3 separate regions of the Homo sapiens genome follow, and all the other regions are linked to region 1. Evidence: promoter capture Hi-C in human tissues and cell types (Jung and others, 2019). All regions are on one chromosome and are shown on one strand. The core of a region is centred on a gene start or on the middle of the fragment in contact, and the rest is flanking DNA. Distances in the headings are between cores, read along the strand shown.

Region 1 (3,065 bases), core at 340-2,839:
TTAGGAAAATTTAATATCTCAGATTGGACATCACACATTTAAAGATGCTTTCAGTATCTATACATTATTTCAGGACTATTTTATGGAATCTGAAGTTCTTCACTGCAATCATTAATAAAAAATACAACTATATAAGTACTCACATGTTAATTACATAAGATTTCATTTACTATGGCTATTATTATTTAGTATTTCACATTGGATAAGTCTCTGTCTTATTCACCCCTCTCTCTGCAGTGAAATTGGCTGATAATCATTCTTAAGATCCCTTGAGGTCTGAGTGCATCAGTGGCCGAACATAAACCAAGACAGCCAATTCACATTTTCCTGAAATCATGAAAGAATCGTCTATTTCTTCTGCAGCAGATACTGCAGAGCCTGGATCTGCTGGGGTCACGGCACATGAGAACAAAAGGGCTAATAGTTGGAAAACAGGCAATGATTAGTGCAGCAGTGTTCACTAGCCACCAACTGGAATTATCGAAGAGAGCTAAATAAACGTAGGTGATGAAGGAAAGGGCGTAACATAATGCAAAGGTGCTCACCAATGCAAGGATGCTTTGGATGGCTCTGTTCCCAGGAGAAGAGTTGGGGTAGAGATTGTTCCTACAGATGTGTTGTACCTGCTGTTTGTGCCTGTACAAGACCAAAACGATGGAGCTGCTGGCCCAGAGCATGAGCCCCAGACACAAAACATCATGGAAGGATGTCAATGCTGCATATACTGACTTTGTGACTTCATCACTAAGTGGGGCAGAACAATATCCCAAATCTCCTTTCTTTGTGATGTTGTTGTTGCTCCATTTGCCAGTTGTATAAATAGGAAAAATGGCATTTACCAGCATGTGGAAGGCCCAGCACAGGATATTGGAGAGACCAATGTATGTCGGGGCTTTTACTTTCATCTCTGCCCACCTGGAGTTCCTAGGGTTGATGGTGATCACCTGGAAGACACTCAAGAGGCAGGTGCTTCCAATGGACACACCCCTGCCTACCCTGTGTGCATACAAAAGAAATTTGCATCCAAAATAATTGTCAAAATGTTTCAACCCAAAAGTTGCCATGGTCTCTGGGATTCTTTTAGATAGGATAACCAAGGAGTCAGCTACAGTCAGGTGCCTGAGAATCAAATCTGTGGATCTTGGCTTGTATCCCCTAAAGTAAAGGAACATATAATAATATAAGAGTGAAAAATTCCCCAGGATTCCAACAACTACCTGGAATAGTGTAGGGTCCAGCCCCACAGGTTTGGTGGGTTTCTCTCCGTGTGCAGAGACAAGAGAGTGTAGAAATAAAGACACAAGACAAAGAGATGAAAGAAAAGACAGCTGTGTCTGGGGGACCACTACCACCAAGACGCGGAGACCGGTAGTGGCCCCGAATGCCAGGCTGCACTGATATTTATTGGATACAAAGCAGGAGACTGGTAGTGGCCCCAAATGCCAGGCTGCGCTGATATTTATTGGATACAAAGCAAAAGGGGTAGGGTAAAGAGTGTGAGTCATCTCCAATGATAGGTAAGGTCACGTGGGTCACGTGTCCACTGGACAGGGGGCCCTTCCCTGCCTGGCAGCCAAGGCAGAGAGAGAGAGAGGGAGAGAGAGAGACAGCTTATGCCATTATTTTTGCATATCAGAGACTTTTAGTACTTTCACTAATTTTACTACTGCTATCTAGAAGGCAGAGCCAGGTGTACAAGATGGAACATGAAGGCAGACCAGGAGCGTGACCACTGAAGCACAGCATCACAGGGAGACAGGCCTCTGGATAACTGCAGGTGGTACTGAGTCAGGCCCTCCACAAGAGGTGGAGGAGTAGAGTCTTCTCTAAACTCCCCCAGGGAAAGGGAGACTCCCTTTCCCGGTCTGCTAAATAGCGGGTGTTTTTCCCTGACACTAACGCTACCGCTAGACCACGGTCCACTTGGCAACGGGCGTCTTCCCACACGCTGGCGTTACCCCTAGACCAAGGAGCCCTCTGGTGGCCCTGTCTGGGCGTAACAGAAGGCTCGCGCTCTTGTCTTCTGGTCACTTTTCACTATGTCTCCTCAGCTCCTATCTCTGTATGGCCTGGCTTTTCCTAGGTTATGATTATAGAGCGAGGATTATTATAATATTGGAATAAGAGTAATTGCTACCAACTAATGATTAATGATATTCATATATAATCATGTCTATGATCTAGATCTAATATAACTCTTGTTGTTTTATATATTTTATTATGCTGGAACAGCTCGTGCCCTCGGTCTCTTGCCTCGGCAGCTGGGTGGCTTGCTGCCCACAAATAGGAAGATCATTCCAATTTTCAGGTCCACAGAGGCCATTCTGTCATTTTCCAGCACTCAATATTGAGTAAGCAGAAGGTTCTGCATGGCAACACGAGTTGTGGGCCACATTTTCATGGAAAATAACCTTTCACTTATGACGATTTCTTCCCCCTGAATATTAAAAGTGAAATATATAGAGAGATATATTGTTAACAAATTTCCCATTTCGTGTATTTCTTTTTACAGCACCTACAATGTATGAGTGACTTTTATAAATGCTGTACCTATTCTGACATTTAATATTCACAACTCCATGAGGTAGGAATTCATATTATTCTCCTTTCACCAACTCTAAAAGAGTTTAAGCACAAGGAGATTAGGTGACTCATTTAAATACCAGAAGAGTGAAGATTTGAACGTGAGTAGCCTGGTTGCAGTAACATTGGTGTTCACTACTACGCTATAATAGTTGCCTAGTTGTGTCCTTTATATATCTATACACACATATATATACATATACACACACACATACATACACGCACACCTACATATGTATAAATATTTGTCATGTTCACTTTATAAATTTGGTTTGATAATTTCCTATTTTTGTCAAAGTATTTATTCTACATATCAATATAACTTATGAGTGAATATTCATAGGTCTTGATAAGTTATAATAGGCACTAAATAATTTCATATGACCCAATGTATTTAATGTGAGTAGATGTTAAGATACCAGCAGAAACACTCATTTCACTGTCTGCAAAGACTAAAAATACTACGGCACCCATCACGGAAA
Region 2 (3,065 bases), core at 1-2,500, 180 kb after region 1:
ACCCCCTCCTTGAAATTGATTAGTTTGCTTGAGTGGCTCACATAACACAGGGAAACACTTATATTTACCCATTTATTATAGAAGATGCTACAAAGCACACAGATGAACATCTAGATGGAAGTGATCTATTAGTTGAGATATGGGAAAGGAGTGAGGAGCTGGGATGTATTCTCTCATGTATTCTGTCTTTTTTGAGTTTTCATGGAGGCCCCATTATGGAGGCCTTGCTTCCATTATTGGCATTGGTGATCAACTGAACTTTCATTCCCTCTGTCCTCCCGAGAGGACAGAGGCTTAGTCTAACCGAGCCTCAGCCTTTCCAGTGACCACCCACCGAGCCTTAGTTCCGGTGACCGCCCTCCATCCTGAAGCTACCTAGGTGCTCCAGACACCAATTATCCCATTAATGTACAAAAAGATACTTATCACTCCACTGATTTCAAGTGAGCTCTTATGTCAGGAGAGGGGGATGAAGACCAAATCTGTATGTCACATTGTCACAATCTGGATCTGTCAGCTCACCCACTTCAATTTAACCTATTCTCACATTTTTCTCCTCTTCTCCTTTTATGTGAAATTTTGAACTCTCCCCTTAGCCACTTGGTGAAATGTGTTTTTCATTTTAGGTACGGTTGACATTTAGGGATGTGGCCATAGAATTCTCTCAGGAGGAGTGGAAATGCCTGGACCCTGCTCAGAGGATCTTATACAGGGACGTGATGTTGGAGAACTACTGGAACCTTGTTTCTCTGGGTGAGGATGACTTTCTTCCAGAAGTCAAGATCTGTTCTTGTCTATTGTTGCATTTTCCCTTACGAGTCCCTGGAGAGCCCCTGCATTGCTTGACTGAGATTGAAGTCCTGTTGACTCTGAAATGGAAAGCTTAATCATGGGAAACCTGGACTTTAATCTTCCCCTTTCTCAGATGTTCTGCCTCCTTTGTACTTCATCATTTGAGGTTTCAGAGCTTTTGTATGCATAATACATTGTGTTAGACTTTTGAAATGTCAGATTTCCTGTTTTCTACCTCTCTGCTTTGGATTAAGTTGTTGGTGGAATAGAGCCTTCTATCAGCATGTACCATGTTTCCTGGGTATTCAGAAGGAGGCATTCAGTGGATGATTTTTTTTTTTTTTTTTTGAGGCGGAGTCTCGCTCTGTCGCCCGGGCTGGAGTGCAGTGGCGTGATCTAGGCTCCCTGCAAGCTCTGCCTCCCAGGTTCATGCCATTCTCCTGCCTTAGCCTCCCGAGTAGCTGGGACCACAGGCGCCCGCCACCACACCTGGATAATTTTTTTTTATGTTTTTAGTAGAGACAGGGTTTCACCATGTTAGCCATCATGATCTCCATCTCCTGACCTTGTGATCCACCCACCTCAGCTTCCCAAAATGCTGGGATTACAGGCATGAGCCACCGCGCCTGGCCCAGTGGATGAATTTTTGAAGTTTTCTTAGATCCACATATAATGTCCTCTCATGTAAACATAGGGCTGGGATTCTGGAAAAGCCCCGGCACATTGTGATCCTTTCTTTTTATAAACAGGACTGTGTCATTTTGATATGAATATTATCTCCATGTTGGAGGAAGGGAAAGAGCCCTGGACTGTGAAGAGCTGTGTGAAAATAGCAAGAAAACCAAGAACGCCGGAATGTGTCAAAGGCGTGGTCACAGGTAAGAGCTCAGATGGGCAGAGAGAAGGCCACTCATTAACTAGAGTGTGGGAGGGGGCACAGTAGCTCACGCCTGTAATCTCAACACTTAGGGAGGCCAAGGTGGGCAGATCACTTGAGGTCAGGAGTTCGAGACCAGCCTGACCAACATTGTGAAACCCTATCTCTACTAAAAATACAAAAAAAAATTAGCCGGGCATGGTGGCGTGTGCCTGTAGTCCCAGCTACTCAGGAGGCTGAGGCAAGAGAATTGCTTGAACCCGGGAGGTGGAGGTTGCAGTGAGCCAAGATCATGCCACTGCACTCCAGCCTGGGTGGACAGAACAAAACTCCGTCTCAAAATAAATAAATAAATAAAGTGGGAAACTCTCTGCAGATGAGAGAGTTCTTTGGGAAAATAAGTTGCCTTAGAGATAGAGGCAAAGTCTTTATCATGATGGACAACACCCTGTCATTTGAACTCTATGGTTCCTTCTGAAGAAACTGCTTTCTTTCTTGGTCTCTCCCTCTGTATTTAATTCCATATGGTGCTCAGTTCTTAGTCCATATGGGTCAGAGGGGAAGCCTCCATAGTCCTTAGTCCTGACGTCTAGACCTGTTTATGTTCCACCCCATTTCCTGTGCGTGGAAGACCTGCTCAGGAGATGGAAACATTGGCTGCTGCTCCTTGGCATCTGCTGCCCCAAACCTCATGGAAGAGTCTCCAGCCGTCTCCGCCTGTCGAGGTCCCTCGGCCATTTCTTCCATTCTGCTTTTGCCACTTTCATGGGGGTGTGTGATAAGCGAGTGGGTTCTATCTTCTAAGATTGTTCTCAGCATAACCGTAAAGACACCTAACAAAATCCTTCTGTCATTGATCCTCAGTCTTACATGGGGTGCGTATTCTGTTTTTCCAGGCTTCAGCACAGAAATACAAGTACTGCATGTTGTCACTTACATTTGGAATCTAAACCAATAAAACTAATAGCAGCAAAGAGTAGAATGTGGGTTACCACAGGTTGGGGACTGGAGGGAATAGGGAGATGTTGGTCACTGGGTGAAAACATTAGGAGTAAATGATAGGTTTTTGAGATGACTTATATGGTAATAGGCTTGTTTCCATCAGTCCATATTGTATACCTATAACAGAATATCAGTTTGTTTCCTGTAAATATATATAACTATAATTTGTCAATATAGAATTTTTTTAAAAATCATATTCCAGTTCTTATTGTGTTGGTTCTAAATAAAAATGCTTCTTTCTCTTAAGACAAAACTGTTTATTATTCCACGGACAATAATTTTTTTTTTAAATGAAGTTTCGCTCTTGTTGCCCAGGCTGGAGTGCAATGGTGCGATCTCGGCTCACCGCAACTTCTGCCTCCTGGGTTCGAGAGATTCTCCTGTCTCAGCCTCC
Region 3 (3,065 bases), core at 1-2,500, 150 kb before region 1:
AACCCAATGTGATTTAGATTCAACACGGTACCCATAAAAATCCTTATCACTGGGGCTGGGCGCAGTGGCTCACGCCTGTAATCCCAGCACTTTGGGAGGCCGAGGTGGGTGGATCATCTGAGGCTGGGAGTTCAAGACCAGCCTAACCAACATGGAGAAACCCCATCTCTACTAAAAATACAAAATTAGCTGGGCGTGGTGGCTCATGCCTGTAATCCTAGCTACTCTGGAGGCTGAGGCAGGAGAATTGCTTGAACCTGGGAGGCGGAGGTTGTAGTGAGCTGGGATCGCTCCATTGCAGTCCAGCCTGGGCAACAAGAGTGAAACTCCATCTCAAAAAAAAAAAAAAAAATCCCTATCAGTTTTTGTTAAAGAAACAAAAAACAGGCTGGGAAAATGGCTCACGTCTGTTGGCCAGGCTGACCTCAAACTCCTGAACTCAAGTGATCTACCGGTGCTGGCCTCCCAAAGCGCTCAGATTACAGGTGTGAGCCACTGTGCCTGGCCCAGTCCTCTTAACATAAACACTTTAATGTCAATTAAGGCTTCAACTCAATGTTAAGTCAAACTCAAGTCAATGCTGAACTGACTCTAGTGTCAATTAATGCTTGATGGTTTGCTATACACATTGTATTTGGAACAACTATCTCCAAAATGAATTTTCTGATATCCTGCAAGGAGTGAGCTCAGACTGAAGACTTTGGCACACTGATGACATTTATAAGATTTCTGTCCAGTATGCATTCTCTGATGTCTAGTGAGGTGTGAATGTGAATTAAAGGCTTTGCCGCAATCATCACACTTGTGAGGTTTCTCTCCTGTATGAATTCTCCTATGTTTTGCATAGAATGAAGCTTGACTGAGACCTTGTCACAATCATGACATTTGTAAGGTTTCTCTCCAGTACGAGTTCGCCGATGAACTGCAAGTTATGAACAATGTCTGAAAAATTTGCCAAATTTATTAAACTAGTATGATCTCTCTTCATTATGGATTCTCCAATGATTCGCAATGGTTGTAGTGTAACTGAAGACTTTGTGACAATCATTACATAAGTAAAGTTTCCCTACACCATGGATTGCCTGATGGTAAACAAGTGTTGACTGCCCACTAAAGACCTGTCACATTCATTATACTTGTAAGCTTTCTCTCCAATGTGAATTCTAGGATGTTGTGCCAGGTGCGAATTATGCCTGAAAGCCTTGTCACAAACTCTTACATTTTTATGCTATCTCTCCAGTAGGAATTCTCCTGTGTCTTTCAAGGTTTGAGTGTGACTGAAAACTTGGTGACATTCTTCACATATGTAAGCTTTCTCTCCAGTATGAATTCTCCTGTCTTTGGAGGCTTGATTTGCGACTGTAAACTTTGTCACATGCTTCACATTTGTAACGTTTATCTCCAGTATGAATTCTATGATGATGTGCAAGCTTTGCTTTTTGATTTAAAACCTTGCCACGTTCATTACACTGCTAAGGTTTCTCTCTAGTATGAATTCTATGACTATCAAGGTTTGATTTGAATCTGAAAGCTTCATCACATTCTTCACATTTGTAAGGTTTCTAATACGACTTCACCCATGAACTGCAAAGGTATGAAGGATGTCTGAAAAATTTTCTGCATTTATTCTGCATTTATCACACTTGTAGGATCTCTCTTCATTATGGATTCTCCAATGATTTGCAATAGTTGTAGCATTACTCAAGACTTGGTGACAATCATTACATTTGTAAAATGCTGACTGCCCATGAAAGGTTTTTCTACACTCATTATCCTTGTAAGGTACCTCTCCAGTATGAAGTCTACGATGGTGCGTAAGGTATGACTTCAGACTAAAGGTCTTGCCACACTCACTACACTTTTAAGGTATCTCTCCAGTATGAAGTCTATGATGGCATGTAAGGTATGAGTTCTGACTAAAGGTCTTGCCACACTCATTACATTTGTAAGGTATCCTCCAGTATGAAGTCTACGATGGCGTGTAAGGTATGAGTTCTGACTAAAGGTCTTGCCACACTCATTACACTTGTATGGTTTCTCTCCAGTATGAATTCTCCTTTGTCTTTCAAGGTTTGATTTGAAATGGAAAACTCAAATTCTTCACATTTGTAAGGTTTCTCTCCAGTACGAAGTCTACAATGGCATGTAAGGGATGAGGTCTGGCTGAAGGTCTTGCCACACTCATTACACCTGTAAGGTTTCTCACCAGTGTGAATTCTCCTATGTCTTTCAAGGTTGGATTTGAAACAGAAAGCTTCTTCACATTCTTCACATTTGTAAGGTCTCTCCACTATGAAGTTTATGATGGTACACAAAAGATGACGTATGACTCAAGGTCTTGCCACACTCATTACACTTGTAAGATTCTCTTCAGTACGAATTTTCTGATGTATTTCAAGGTTTGATTTGAAATTGTAAGCTTTGTCAAGTTCTTCATATTTGTAAGGTTTCTCTCCACTATGAAGCCTACGATGGCATGTAAGGGTTAACTCCTGATTGAAGGTCTTACCACACTCATTACACGTGTAGTTTCTCTCCAGTATAAATTCTCCTATGTCTTTCAAGGTTTGATTTGAAACTGAAAGCTTCATCACAATCTTCACATTTGTAAGGTTTCTGTCCAGTATGAAGTCTATGATGGTATGTAAGGGATGACGTCCGGCTGAAGGTCTTGCCACACTCATTACACTTGTAAGGATTCTCTTCAGTATGAATTTTCTGATGTATTTCAAGGTTTGATTTGAAACTGTAGGCTTTGTCACATTCTTCACATTTGTAAGGTTTCTCTCCACTATGAAGTCTACAAATGTTAAGGGTTAACTGCTGATTGAAGGTCTTGCCACACTCATTACACTTGTAAGGTTTCTCTTCAGTATGAAGTCTACGATGGTATGTAAGAGATGACTTGTGACTAAAGGTCTTGCTACACTCATTACACTTGTAAGGTTTCTCTCCAGTATGAACTCTATGATGGCATGTAAAATGTGACTTCCGACTAAAGGTCTTGCCACACTCATTACACTTGTAAGGTTTCTCTCCAGTATGAAGCCTACGATGGCATGTAA

What was found. The method cuts DNA at HindIII sites, captures the fragments that hold promoters and counts their contacts. A contact is called where the count stands out against the background at its distance.
Region 2: a fragment that was not itself captured here is called in contact with the fragment with the promoter of VN1R2 in region 1 in 2 of the 25 tissues and cell types used here (hippocampus and lymphoblastoid cells).
Region 3: a contact is called between a fragment that was not itself captured here and the fragment with the promoter of VN1R2 in region 1, in 2 of the 25 tissues and cell types used here (mesenchymal stem cells and mesendoderm cells).

What each region holds. Positions count from the first base shown.
Region 1 is chr19:53,256,816-53,259,880 of GRCh38, reverse strand. It overlaps VN1R2 (vomeronasal 1 receptor 2), which reads right to left and starts at 1,589. Exons shown (of 1, transcript NM_173856.2): 1 at 279-1,589. The coding sequence starts at 1,505. The coding sequence ends at 318. The HindIII fragment of the contact is 12,643 bases long and covers 1-3,065 here.
Region 2 is chr19:53,072,745-53,075,809 of GRCh38, reverse strand. ZNF160 (zinc finger protein 160) reads left to right here. Exons shown (of 6, transcript NM_001322131.2): 4 at 627-753; 5 at 1,542-1,670. Among named protein-coding and RNA genes, the nearest start is that of ZNF160, 29 kb to the left of the region's middle. The HindIII fragment of the contact is 9,128 bases long and covers 1-3,065 here.
Region 3 is chr19:53,408,580-53,411,644 of GRCh38, reverse strand. The region is part of intron 3 of ZNF765-ZNF761 (ZNF765-ZNF761 readthrough); the gene reads right to left. It overlaps ZNF765 (zinc finger protein 765), which reads right to left. Exons shown (of 4, transcript NM_001040185.3): 4 at 1-3,065. The coding sequence ends at 2,518. It also overlaps the pseudogene LOC124904793. Among named protein-coding and RNA genes, the nearest start is that of ZNF765-ZNF761, 15 kb to the right of the region's middle. The HindIII fragment of the contact is 3,821 bases long and covers 1-3,065 here.